Linked DNA regions of Homo sapiens: all the other regions are linked to region 1. The links are contacts of gene promoters, found by promoter capture Hi-C in blood cells and fetal thymus (Javierre and others, 2016). All regions are on one chromosome and are shown on one strand. Each heading gives the region's core, a stretch centred on a gene start or on the middle of the fragment in contact. The rest is flanking DNA. Distances are from core to core; before and after follow the strand shown.

Region 1 (2,700 bases), core at 35-2,534:
GAAAGGGGGAATGGCGCTGGTGGGGAGGAAGGCAACGACTTAGACAGTGGAGATTCCAATTATGAAATCCGGGTCCACACTCCTGCACGCGGTTCCCCTGGCCCTGAACACATCCCAGAGGTTCCTGACTTCTCCTTGACCCGGACTTCCATTTGGGAGCTTCGGCTTAGGCATCTGGCCAGTGAGGGGAAGGGACTGAGAACCAGGGCCGGCGAGGCCCCTACTCCAAACCCCTTCAGGGAGTCACAAACCGTACTTGGCGTGAGAGGCTCCCCCAGGAATCGCGGGTAGGTTACAGACGGCGCCAGGCGCGGGACGGGGCATTTCACTTGGGCTGAAGACACTGGGTTGGGGTGCGTGTGTGTGCACAGGGCAGGGGCGGCGGGGACTGGCCGGCACGAGAGGGAAGGAAGGCGAGGGAGAAGGGATGGCAAGAAAGAGGGGAGGGGCTGGGTCCTGCAGCCGCTCGCGGCAGACAAAAGTTTTCGGGAAGCGCTGGGCTCTGGTTGGGCTGGGGGAAGGGAAGTAGAGAAAGATTCAGACAACGCCCCCTCCCCCACACCAGGCCCCCACAAATATTTACACACTGGGCAGAAACAGTTGAGACACAAATCCCAGACGGACAGACACCGCGGAGTGTATGTGTGTGTGTTTGTGTGTGTGTGTGTGTGTGTCTGGTGTCGGGAGTTGCGGGGAGTTGGAGCCAACTTGGCGCAGCCGCAGCCTCTGTTCAGGGCCCTGCCTCCCTCGCCCAGCCCCCTACTCTCCTTGGACCAAGTCCTCAAACCCAGACTTTTCGTCCCTACCCCCACCAAGCTCCCTGGAACGGTCTCCCCGCGTCTGGGGACGGAGAGGAGAACTAATAACTGGCCCCTTCAGCCGCCCACCCGCCCCTGTCCAGCTTCGCTCGCCACTCCCGGTCCTACCTGGGCCCGGGGCTGCGCTGGGGGCTCCATAGGGCGCGTCGCAGCCAGAGGGGCGCTGGCCGCTCACCTGGTACATCGGCCCCGGACCTGCGGAAAACAGGGCTCAGCGGGCGGCGCCGGAGGCGGGCAAGGGGCGATTCCCCCGCAGATGCGCGCCTCCCACGTCCACTCACTCGTGCGAGCCGTGCTACGCTCTCTTCCAGCCGGATCCCCGCGCGGGGCCCGCCATGCGCGCCTGCTCCGGGCGCCCCTGCCCAGGTCCCGCTGGCTCCCGGGTGCTCGCCTGGCGCCCCTTCCCCTCTCACTCGCTGCTTTCTCCCATTTCGGCGCCAGCTCACGCCGTTCGCCCCTTCCTTCTTCCTTCTCTCCCTCCAGCCCCCCTCGCTCCTCCCCTACTCGCCTCTCCCCTCCCCTCTTCCCTGGCCCACCCTCTCCCCGCCCCCTCCTCGCCTTCTCAGTCGCCCCTCTGCGGGTCCCCTCCCCCGCGCCGGGCTTGGCCCAGCCAGGAGCCGGACACGTCTGTCCGCGGGGCGCCCGAGGCCCGAGCCCCCACAGGAAGCCGGCTGGGCGCGCTTCCTCCGCGCTCTCGGAGCGGGGCCTCAGTCTCCCCGACTCCCTGCTCTCTGAGGCCCGGAGATCCGCGGGCTGCACGTTTTCCTTTGCCTGTCCAAACTCTGCAAAAGTTTCTGGAAAATCAGGAGAAAGAGAGAAACCTCAACCACTTCGTGGAACTGTCTGAATAATTGCGGCCTCCAAATCTCTTTGCCCCAAAGATGGGCGCGATCAAGTTTCTCAGTCACGTTTTACCCACCCCCTCGGTCTCCTCCCGGGGTCCTAAGCCAGGGACAGGGATCTGGGCTCCCAGGCCACCCGCCCACAGCGCCAGAGTTGTCTGTCCGGGAAATCCGGTTAGTGACCAACCAGCCTGCCCTGTGCCGCAGCAGCCCAGAGCATCCTCGACCCTCCTGCCCCTACCAGCTGTGCGTGGGAATGTGTGTCAGAAAACCGACTTTGGGGGCAAAGAGAGGTCCTCCGAATTCAGCCCTTCTTTGGGATCCAGACTGAATCCGAGGGCTTCTAAGATGAGGGTTCGGGGAGAAAGGGGAGGGAGGGAGCCTCTCCCGGTGGGGCCAGCCGGGCGGCGCGTCTGGATGGTGAGCCGTGGTGGTAGGAAGAAGCCGCTGCCAGGCAGTCCAAGAGGGTTCAGGGGCCCTCAGCGCGACCCCGGAACCTGGTCCCCGAGAATGGGGAAGACTTTGGAGCCTGCGGCTCTCCAGGTGGGGCTGGGCGGGCCCGTGGGATGATGCTCAGGTGGGGCAGCCCCCTGGGGTGACAGCGTCTCGGCCGTACTTGTCTAGGGCCGCCTAGGAGCCGCGTCTGGGCTCCCCGCCACGAGGGCCAGTGAGCACACTGGAAGGCAGCGGCGGCACCAGGCCACCTTTTCTAGTCCCGAGTCCAGCCGGGTCTGGAAGTGGAGAGCTGGGACGCAGGAGGCCGGGCGTCCCAGCTCCCCACTTCTTGGACTCTCCTAGCCCCCATAGTCGCTACTTACGGCTATCGCAGGTCCTGGGGCGCCGTCGGGGCCAGGACCGGGATGGCCCCCACGGCGCCGGCAGCGCTCTCGGCACCCGCGGCCACGTCCCAGCGATGGGCTGGGGTGGTTGCGGCCCGGAGGAAGGTGGGGCGGGACAAGAAGAGAGTGTTCCGCCCCCCAGGCCGGGCTGCTAGCCGCGGGGGTCTGTCCTAGTGCCCCAGGAGCCGGCCGGGATCCGGC
Region 2 (2,886 bases), core at 107-2,606, 250 kb after region 1:
AGTTTCCAGACCCCACAGAGGAGGTGGTAACACTGAATAAGTATTTGAGCCATAAAGACCAACGAAGTCTTCTCAGTTAAACCAAAGGACTTATTCCTGCAGCAAAGATCAGGTTAAGGATATTGTCTCTCTAATAATCCTCTTGCTACAGATGGCCTTACAGTAGCTGATATTTAACAAATGGGGATTGGCATGGAGCTAAAAAAGCAAAAAAGAACTCAAACAGATTTAAGAACCATGTATAGGGAATTTTGGAAGTGGTAAGTGGTGCATGTAACCAATGGGAAGCAAATAGATCAGAAATCTTTTTGCAGGAAGAAATTGCATTTCTCAAGAAATCACAAAGATGGTCTTTAAAAAGTTCAGAAAAACACGTGGACCCTCAAGCTTCCATGAACCAAAAGTGCTACAAAAGCAGTGGGAACTCCCAAAAGGGGGATACTACTAATAACTCCTTCAGATCTGGCCACAGGAGATAATAGACAAGGGAGAATTTCCCAGAGGGCAGAGCAGGGGCCATGGAAGGCAAGGAGACTCCTCCCAGAGAAAGGATACAGGGTCTAATGCAGTAACCCCCTCTATTGCCAGGGCAGAGGGTCTTCACAATGCTTGTCTGGCAGGGTTCCATCATTGTTATGGACAAGGCACTGCCTGTGTCTCCCAATCTTAATTGCAATTATCCTATATTTTGGGTGTGTGCAGGGGTGGGGAGTAGAGCACAGTTCGTAAGTCTGTGGACCAAGAGAAATTCCATCAGACTTGTTGGAAAGGACTGTACATCACCTAGAAGTTCTGGACACTGAGCTGAATGCAGAGGCTAGATGGGGTTTTGCTTTGACTCCCTTGGAAAGGGACTGGATGTCTTCTACATGTGGCAAGAAGGCTACACACACCACTGACCGTGGAAGAGAGACTGCTGGCTGGGCATCCAAATCTGTTATTTCTTCTTCCTCAGCATGAAAGTAAGGTTATATTTCTCAGCTTTCCTTGCAGGGAGGTGTAGCCACAGGGCTAAACTTTCCCCAGTGGAATGTGAGTGGAAATGATATGTGTCAATTTCAGGACAGGTCCATAAAGACTTCATCTGTGCAGTTTTCTGTGCTCTTTCCTGTTTTACTGGCTGGCTGCAGATATGACAAGAAGACTCCAGAGGAAACATCATAACCTGTGGTCCACAGACCCTAAATTCAGGGAAATCTATGAACTTGGATGGGAAAAGTACATCTTTATTTTTCCTGACCTTAAACTAGTTGAGCATTTCTTTCTATTATAAATGTAGACAATAAACCACAGTGGTGTTAGCAGTATCTGTGACTTTGTCACCAGTAGAAATCACAGATATTTTCATATCACATTACAGTTGTTGCAGATAGCTCAAAATATCATTACATTCATCACTACTTAGAAACCGCGGCAGTTATTAGACCTGCCACTAGACTGCACATAATTGCAGTCTTCCTGTTGATAGACAGCTGTGCCACACAACTGGCCGATGCTGAGCAGGGGAGGCATTCCACCACCAAATGTGGAAGTCACATTTGCTCGCAATCTATGTTGCTTTCCATAGTCCTTGCCTCCAATTGTTGGTCAATTAATATGTGGAGGTAGATGCATTGTTTGTTAGAGGTTTGCAAAACTGGATGATTCAAATAAGAATTATTTATTTATTTATTTTCGGAGATGGAATCTTGCTCTGTCACCCAGGCTGGAGTGCAATGGTGCGATCTTGGCTCACTGCAACCTCTGCCTCCTGGGTTCACGCAATTCTCCTGCCTCAGCCTCCCGAGTAGCTGAGATTACAGGTATGCGCCACCATGCCTGGCTAATTTTTGTATTTTTAGTAGAGATGGGGTTTTGCCATGTTGGCCAGGCTGGTCTCGAACTCCTGACCTCATGATCCACCTGCCTTGGCCTCCTACAGTGCTAAGATTACAGGCATGAGCCACCGTACCAGGCCGTCAGATAAGAATTCTTAGCCCTCTTCAATACTGAGAGGTGTGCAGGCCACAAGTGTAGTCAGTCTTCACAATGATATATCTTTAAAAAATAAACGTAGCTTAAACGCACTTATGTTTTAAATGTTTTGTCTTACTATTTATTCAATTAATACAGAAACACATTTATTACTATATCACAATGGTTTTTATTTATTTTGATAGTTATATGTCCATATAATTGTTTTGCTTTATACTACTATGTGTTTTGTTTTATGGATTTAAAAATGTTATCAGAAAGGGTCTGCCAGATAGTTAAAGGGGTCCAGGGCCCCAAAAAGGTTAGGAGGGGGCCTGTGGTATGGCTGCGCCTCAAGGTGGAAGAAGCTTGGGTCTCACAGAGGAGTGCCTGCCTATTACATGAACATCCATCCAGGACTACTATGTGAGCAGAAATAAACTTCTGTTGTGTTAACTTGGGAGCATATCCTCCCGAATGCAAAGATTGATCCATTGAATTTTTTTTCTTTTTTTTTTTTTGTGGTGATGGTGACTCACTATGTTGCCCATGCTGATTTTGAACTCCTGGCCGCCAGTTATCAGCTTCCCAAAGCGCTGGGATTGCAGGCATGAGCCACTGTGCCCAGCCCCTACTGTTAGTTTTGAGAAGTCCAGTGCCATACTAATTATTAATCTTCTGTATCATTTCCCTGCTTTCTGTAACTCTCACCCTCTCACCAATGTCTTTTCTTTTCTTTTCCTTCCTTTATTTCCCTCCCTCCCTCCCTCCCTCCCTTCCTTCCTTCCTTCCCTCCCTCCCTCCCTCTCTCCCTCTCTCTCTCTCTCTTTCTTTTTCTTTCTTTTGGATTTTTACTTTCTCCCTTTGTTCTGAAATTTCACATGTGCTCTAGAGTAGGTCTTTTCTCCACGAATTATGCCAGGCTCTCTCAGT
Region 3 (2,743 bases), core at 208-2,707, 180 kb after region 1:
CTGATGTCCTTGCTTGAAGAAGGGGTGTCCCTAGATAGCAGCTACCACTGGACAACATCTAGGGAGACCCTATTTCATCCTTCTTCTCCTCTCCCCACACATTTTCTCTGATATCAGCAGATCCACTTTTCCAGCTAGTTCCCTAAATGGCCAGAGATCCTGCAAGCTCCAGGGCTCCTGCTGTCAGCTCCTAAAGCATCTCATCACAGCCTCTTGCTCCACTGTTCTGTGCTTAAGAACATGGTGGGGCTGCCCACTAACCAAGATGGTTGACTTTGCACCAGTGGGATGTCAAGATCTTAAGAGGAGAACAGGAAGTGGGATCAGACCCCACCTTAAAAGGGAGGGACTTCCTAACTGTTCAGAGCTTTTTGATTGGCTAAGCTTTAGACCTCTTTGTAAATATCTGGGGAATACAAAGTGAGGGAATTCATTCATTCACCCATTAAAATCAGCAAACTTGTGTGTGTGTAGAGATGCACATATGTAACTCCAATGTCTAACTCAAAATTACACTTAAATTTTGTATGCCTTGGTTTTCTCATCTGCAAAATGGGGATAATAGCTGTGCCTACTTCACATGATTGTTGTGAGGATTAATGAGTTAATTTACAAAAAGCATTTAGAACACTGCCTAGCACTTAACAAGTATGATGTAAGGGTCAGATATCATTACTATTATTGTTATTGTTACTATTATTACTATTGCTATATATAATTTTTAAAATGTACTCTCCACCTGCTCACGAACGACTCTTCCCCGTAATTCCCTATCAGAGAGCATTTCCCCAGGCCCCTTTCCTAGGTTCCCACTTGGCTTAGCAAGGTTCTCAGTGCCTCCTGGATCCCCTTCTCAATGACCCCTTGACCCCACTCTGAGACCTCCACCTTGGTTCCAACCACTGGTGCCAGAGCAATTACCAGGGTTCTGGCAATCAAGGGTGGTGAGGGGAGGGAGCTAAAAATACACCCATTTTCCACAGTCCCATAAGCCTTCAATTTACCTGCTTTTATAAAAAGATGCTTCCTTAGGTGTCACCAGCAGAAGGTATAATTACAGCCTGGAAATGTTAATTCCCTTGCTCCTGATATGTGGATCGTTGCTCTGCAGGGCTCCTGTCCTCCTCAGAGCCCTGGGAGGGGAGATGGGCAGGCTGTGGGAGGGAGTCAGAGTGGGAGGCAATGCCAGGCCTGAAGGCCAGCAGGGACCACCCTAAATGAGAACAGGAAGCAGTGGAGGAGGTGCCTTCTCATACCTGGCTACCCCCAGGAATCTCCCAGGCGGCTGGGGCTGGAGAAGGTGGACACTGAGCTAGAGACAGATGTGGGGAAGTGGGAACTCTAAGGCACCTGTTTCAGATCAGTGAAACTGAGCTTTATCAATGCTCCCCAGAACTCACTTACCCTTTTTTTCAAATGAGCTAGTTGTACTGTTTTCCCCTCCAGGTCACAGTGAAGTGACACCGCTTTGGGAATGCAGAGAGGACCTATAGGTCACATAGACAGTCATTCCTAATGCATTCTCCCAGTGGGCTTGAGTGTTTGCTCTGGGGCAGGTAGTGGGCCAGGGTAACAGAGATCACAGTGCAGATAGGGAGGAGATGAAGATAGTCATGGTAGGGTGTGGCCAGGGCTGTCCATAAGTAAGCAAAGGGTGATCCAGGGACCAGGACGGAGCAGCCTCACTCAGACAAGGGATCATTCTTGAGCTTTTTTTTAGATGAATTTATTTTTTCTTGAAACAGATCTCACTCTGTCACCCAGGCTGGAGTGCAATGGCGTGATCTCAGCTCACTGCAACCTCCCCTTCCCGGGTTCAAGCCATTGTCTTGCCTCAGCCTCCTGAGTAGCTGGGATTACAGGTGCCCTCCACCATGCCTGGCTAATTTCTGTATCTTTAGTAAAGATGGGGTTTCACCATGTTGGGCCAGGCTGGTCTCGAACTCTTGACCTCAGGTGATCCGCCTGCCTCAGCCTCCCAAAGTGCTGGGATTACAGGTGTGAGTCACCATGCCCAGCCCATTCTTGAGCTTTGAAGGACAAGCAGGGTGTGGCTTGCTAGTCTCCTTGCCCCCATCTGTCCCCCTTCAGTTTATCCACACATGATAGCCAGAGGGATTATCCTAAAACCTAAGAGAGATCATGTCATTCTCTGCTTAGCATCCTCTAATGGTTCCCCATTTCACTCAGAATTATCACAGTGGCCTCAAGGCCCTATTCATCCTGCCTTCCGTGCTGCAGTTTCGGCCATAGCGCTCGGTAGCACCTACTGTTGTGTATTATAGTCATCCATGGGGCAGGACTCCTCGCTGATACCAAAATCCAGGCACCTCAGGTCCCCTATATAAAATGGCATAGTATTTCTACATAACCTGTGCACATCCTCCCATATACTTTAAATCATCTTTAGATTACTTATGATAACTAATACAATATAAATGCTATGTAAATAGTTGTTGTATTGTTTAGGGAATAATAACAAGAAAAAAGTCTATACATGTTCAGTACAGGTGCAACCATTGGAAGCTTAACTACATTTTCTGTCTATGTTTGGTTGAATCCACGATGCAGATGTGGATATGAGGGGTGACTTCTTTGTTTTGTTTTAGTCTCTATCCCTCACCATGATATAAAACTCCATGAGGACAAGGATTTTTGTCTGTTTTGTTCCCAGGGTTCAGAACAGTGTCAGGCACACAGTAGGTGTTCATTAAGTGTTTGTGAATGAATGAGACCCTTCAGG
Region 4 (2,700 bases), core at 161-2,660, 230 kb after region 1:
CCTCAGCAGCAGCAGAACTGGGAAGGGGGGAGTGGAGAGGGAAGGGGGCTTCCTGGAAGTAGAACTCACAGGTGCTGAGAGCCGAGGTCTTTGCCTTGAAGAGTCCTCGGATCTCCTTTTCTTGAAAAAAAGGGGCAGCCCTACCATGCTGGGTCACACTGTCTTTCTCCCCCAACTCCCTGCCTCCAACCTCAGCTCTAGGCCAAGAGTCTGGCTGGGTGCTAACCCCAGCTCCCCAGGGAAAGGCCGATGCCTGTGGGTATAGGTCACCTGGAACCTAGTCTAGAGAATTCCATCACACACCTGGCCCTGCCCTCAGTTTACACAGGGGAACAAGGAGAGAGAGAAAATGACAAAGCCGAGGATGAAGGAATGAGAAGAAAAAGAGGAAGAGGAAAGAGAGAATGGAAAGAGGGAAAGGCCACCTGAGCTCAAGGCTCCAACCTGCACCAAGCTGGGGGATGGGCAGGAAGAGACACAAGGGTCGGGACCCCAGGGGCTTAAGAGAGGGAACAGAGGACAGCCAGCTGCAGAGGAGCCCAGTCCTACTGACGGATGCACAAGGAGGCCAATGGCATCAGAGAAGCCCGAATGGGTTGCTTGGAGGTGAGTTCTGAGGTGGACTGAGACAGGGGGTAGGGCTTGGCAGAAGGTGCCTTGCATGATTAGGTCTCCACAGGTTCCAGGGGGAGCTGGCACCCTGAGTAGTGTCCTCTTCTGAAGCTACCCACACTCCCACCTCTTTTTGCCAGCCTTTTATTAGGCATCCTTCAAGCCCAAGCACTGCCTCCTCTGGGAAGCCCTCTCATACTGCCCCCAGCCTGCTTTAGGAGTTCTGTTCTGGGCACCCTGAACATTCTGTGCTGAGTCTGATGTGACATCGAAAACCCAGTCTTTATGCCTTGATTATTCTCTTGAAGTCAGTGGCAGTGACTTATTTATTTCTGTGTCTCTGGGGTATAGCACAAGTCTAGGCAATAGTAGGGGCCAAAATGTCTTTGATGAGTCAATTGCCATCAGCCTCTTCCTTTGTGCCAAGAGGAGCACCATTAGCAGCCCAAGGCTGGGAGTTTGGCTACTCTGGAGCCAGAAAAGGGCGCGAGGACAGCCCTCCTGGCCAGAAAGAACACCCAGGGAGGCCTGCCGCTGATGACTAAAGTTCTCCCATTAGCCCATCTTGTTAGGTTACGGCTGAGTGGTGTCATGAAAGGACACAGACAGGCAGGCCAGAAGTAATGAGTTCCAGCTCTGCCCTGACCCACTAACCGGCTAGGGGATCTTAGGCTGGGTATTGCCTCTCTTTGGCCTCAGTTTCCCCAATATGCTGAGGCTCTTGAACAGGATGCATTCTCAGGTCCTGCTGAGGCTGTGGCCTACATTGAACTGTGCCAGCCCTGAGGTCATACCTTAGCTCCTCTGAGAGACTTCCCTACCCAGTCACAACTGAGACTGGGCTGAGAGGACAGGGAAGAGAAGGATGAGGGGTGGATGGGGTAGGGCTGCTGTGGAGGGACTTAGCAGGGAAAGAGCCTAGGGAAGGCAGGTGAGAGGGAAACATTGGTCCACATTGCCCATCGGGCCGCCTGCCAGCCCCCAGCAGGCAGCCACGAGGGTCCAGGGAGTGGTGGCCTTGTGGGGCACTCACTGGATCTGGCATTTTTTTCCAGACCAGTGGGGTACCTAATGTGTTAGGCACCCTTAGTAAATCATTTTTAACACCTCCCATATTATCAAATTATCACCATGATGATGAATAACAAGTAAATAATAATGGCCAGAAAAGTCAGACAGTGTAACTGTTCTTTTATTCAACTCTGTATAATTGTATCAGGAAATAAACAAATACTACAGTACAAAAAGACAAAAGCAACTGATACTTGAAAATTATATTAATTTTGGGGGGTGGGGAGTAGGGGGAAGAAACACATGAAGAAAGACTCCCAAGTTTGCCGTGAGCCAAGATTGTGTCACTGCATTCCAGCCTGGGTGACAGAGCCAGACCCTGTCTCAAAAACAAAAACAAAAACAAAACAAAACAAAAGAATAACAACAAAAAGGAAAGCCTCCCAAAAGAGTAAACTGCAAGTTTCAGAGAATGATTTGCATGGAGAATAACAGAATTGAAGTAGCTTGAGTCTGTTACTTTGTCTTTGCAATCACTGTGCATCATTGTTGATTTTGAATCTACTGTTTAAAGGCAGGGATGTGCAGAACTATAGGATTTGAGACACAAACTGTGGCTGAAGCCAGCTCTAATGAATTTGAATTTAAACTTAATCTCAAAATGAAGAGTGTAGCTGAGTCCTGTGTATTCTGGGCTGACTATATACATGAGAGTCCTTCAAATTAACTATCAGGTAGTGTACAATCTTTACTAAAGGATAAGTAATAGAAATGTGCTAATTTGAAACTCAACAGTCACCACAGTAATTGCTTAGAACATAGCACAACAGACGAGTTTTTTTTTTTTTTTTACTTCAGGGAGGAGTATTTTATTACTGACACAAAATGGCTGGCGCATGGTGATAACAGAAAAAGCACATGACTTTTAGTAGATTTTATTATTGTTTTAAAATTCCCTACAGACAACAAACTTTTTCATTGCCTGCTCCTGCAGACACCCCCCCTACACCCCTGTTCTCCACTGGGGTTTGCGTATTTGCAGCCCCATATTCCAGAAACTTTCATTCCAAGCCCTTC

What was found. Contacts are between HindIII fragments. The CHiCAGO score rates a contact against its expected background, and 5 or more counts as called.
Region 2: a fragment that was not itself captured here is called in contact with the fragment with the promoter of MDFI in region 1 in 10 of 17 cell types (M1 macrophages, naive CD8 T cells, activated CD4 T cells and 7 more); the score reaches 7.6 in M1 macrophages.
Region 3: a fragment that was not itself captured here is called in contact with the fragment with the promoter of MDFI in region 1 in 1 of 17 cell types (M2 macrophages); the score reaches 5.3 in M2 macrophages.
Region 4: a contact is called between a fragment that was not itself captured here and the fragment with the promoter of MDFI in region 1, in 1 of 17 cell types (total CD8 T cells). The highest score is 5.1, in total CD8 T cells.

Annotation. Positions count from the first base shown.
Region 1 is chr6:41,637,052-41,639,751 of GRCh38, reverse strand. It overlaps MDFI (MyoD family inhibitor), which reads right to left and starts at 1,284. Exons shown (of 5, transcript NM_005586.4): 1 at 1,100-1,284; 2 at 927-1,013. The coding sequence starts at 1,002. The HindIII fragment of the contact is 14,281 bases long and covers 1-2,700 here.
Region 2 is chr6:41,390,997-41,393,882 of GRCh38, reverse strand. No RefSeq gene overlaps it. Among named protein-coding and RNA genes, the nearest start is that of NCR2, 57 kb to the right of the region's middle. The HindIII fragment of the contact is 1,934 bases long and covers 390-2,323 here.
Region 3 is chr6:41,458,717-41,461,459 of GRCh38, reverse strand. The region is part of intron 2 of LOC112267957 (a long non-coding RNA gene); the gene reads left to right. Among named protein-coding and RNA genes, the nearest start is that of LINC01276, 42 kb to the left of the region's middle. The HindIII fragment of the contact is 2,142 bases long and covers 387-2,528 here.
Region 4 is chr6:41,410,601-41,413,300 of GRCh38, reverse strand. No RefSeq gene overlaps it. Among named protein-coding and RNA genes, the nearest start is that of NCR2, 76 kb to the right of the region's middle. The HindIII fragment of the contact is 3,762 bases long and covers 1-2,700 here.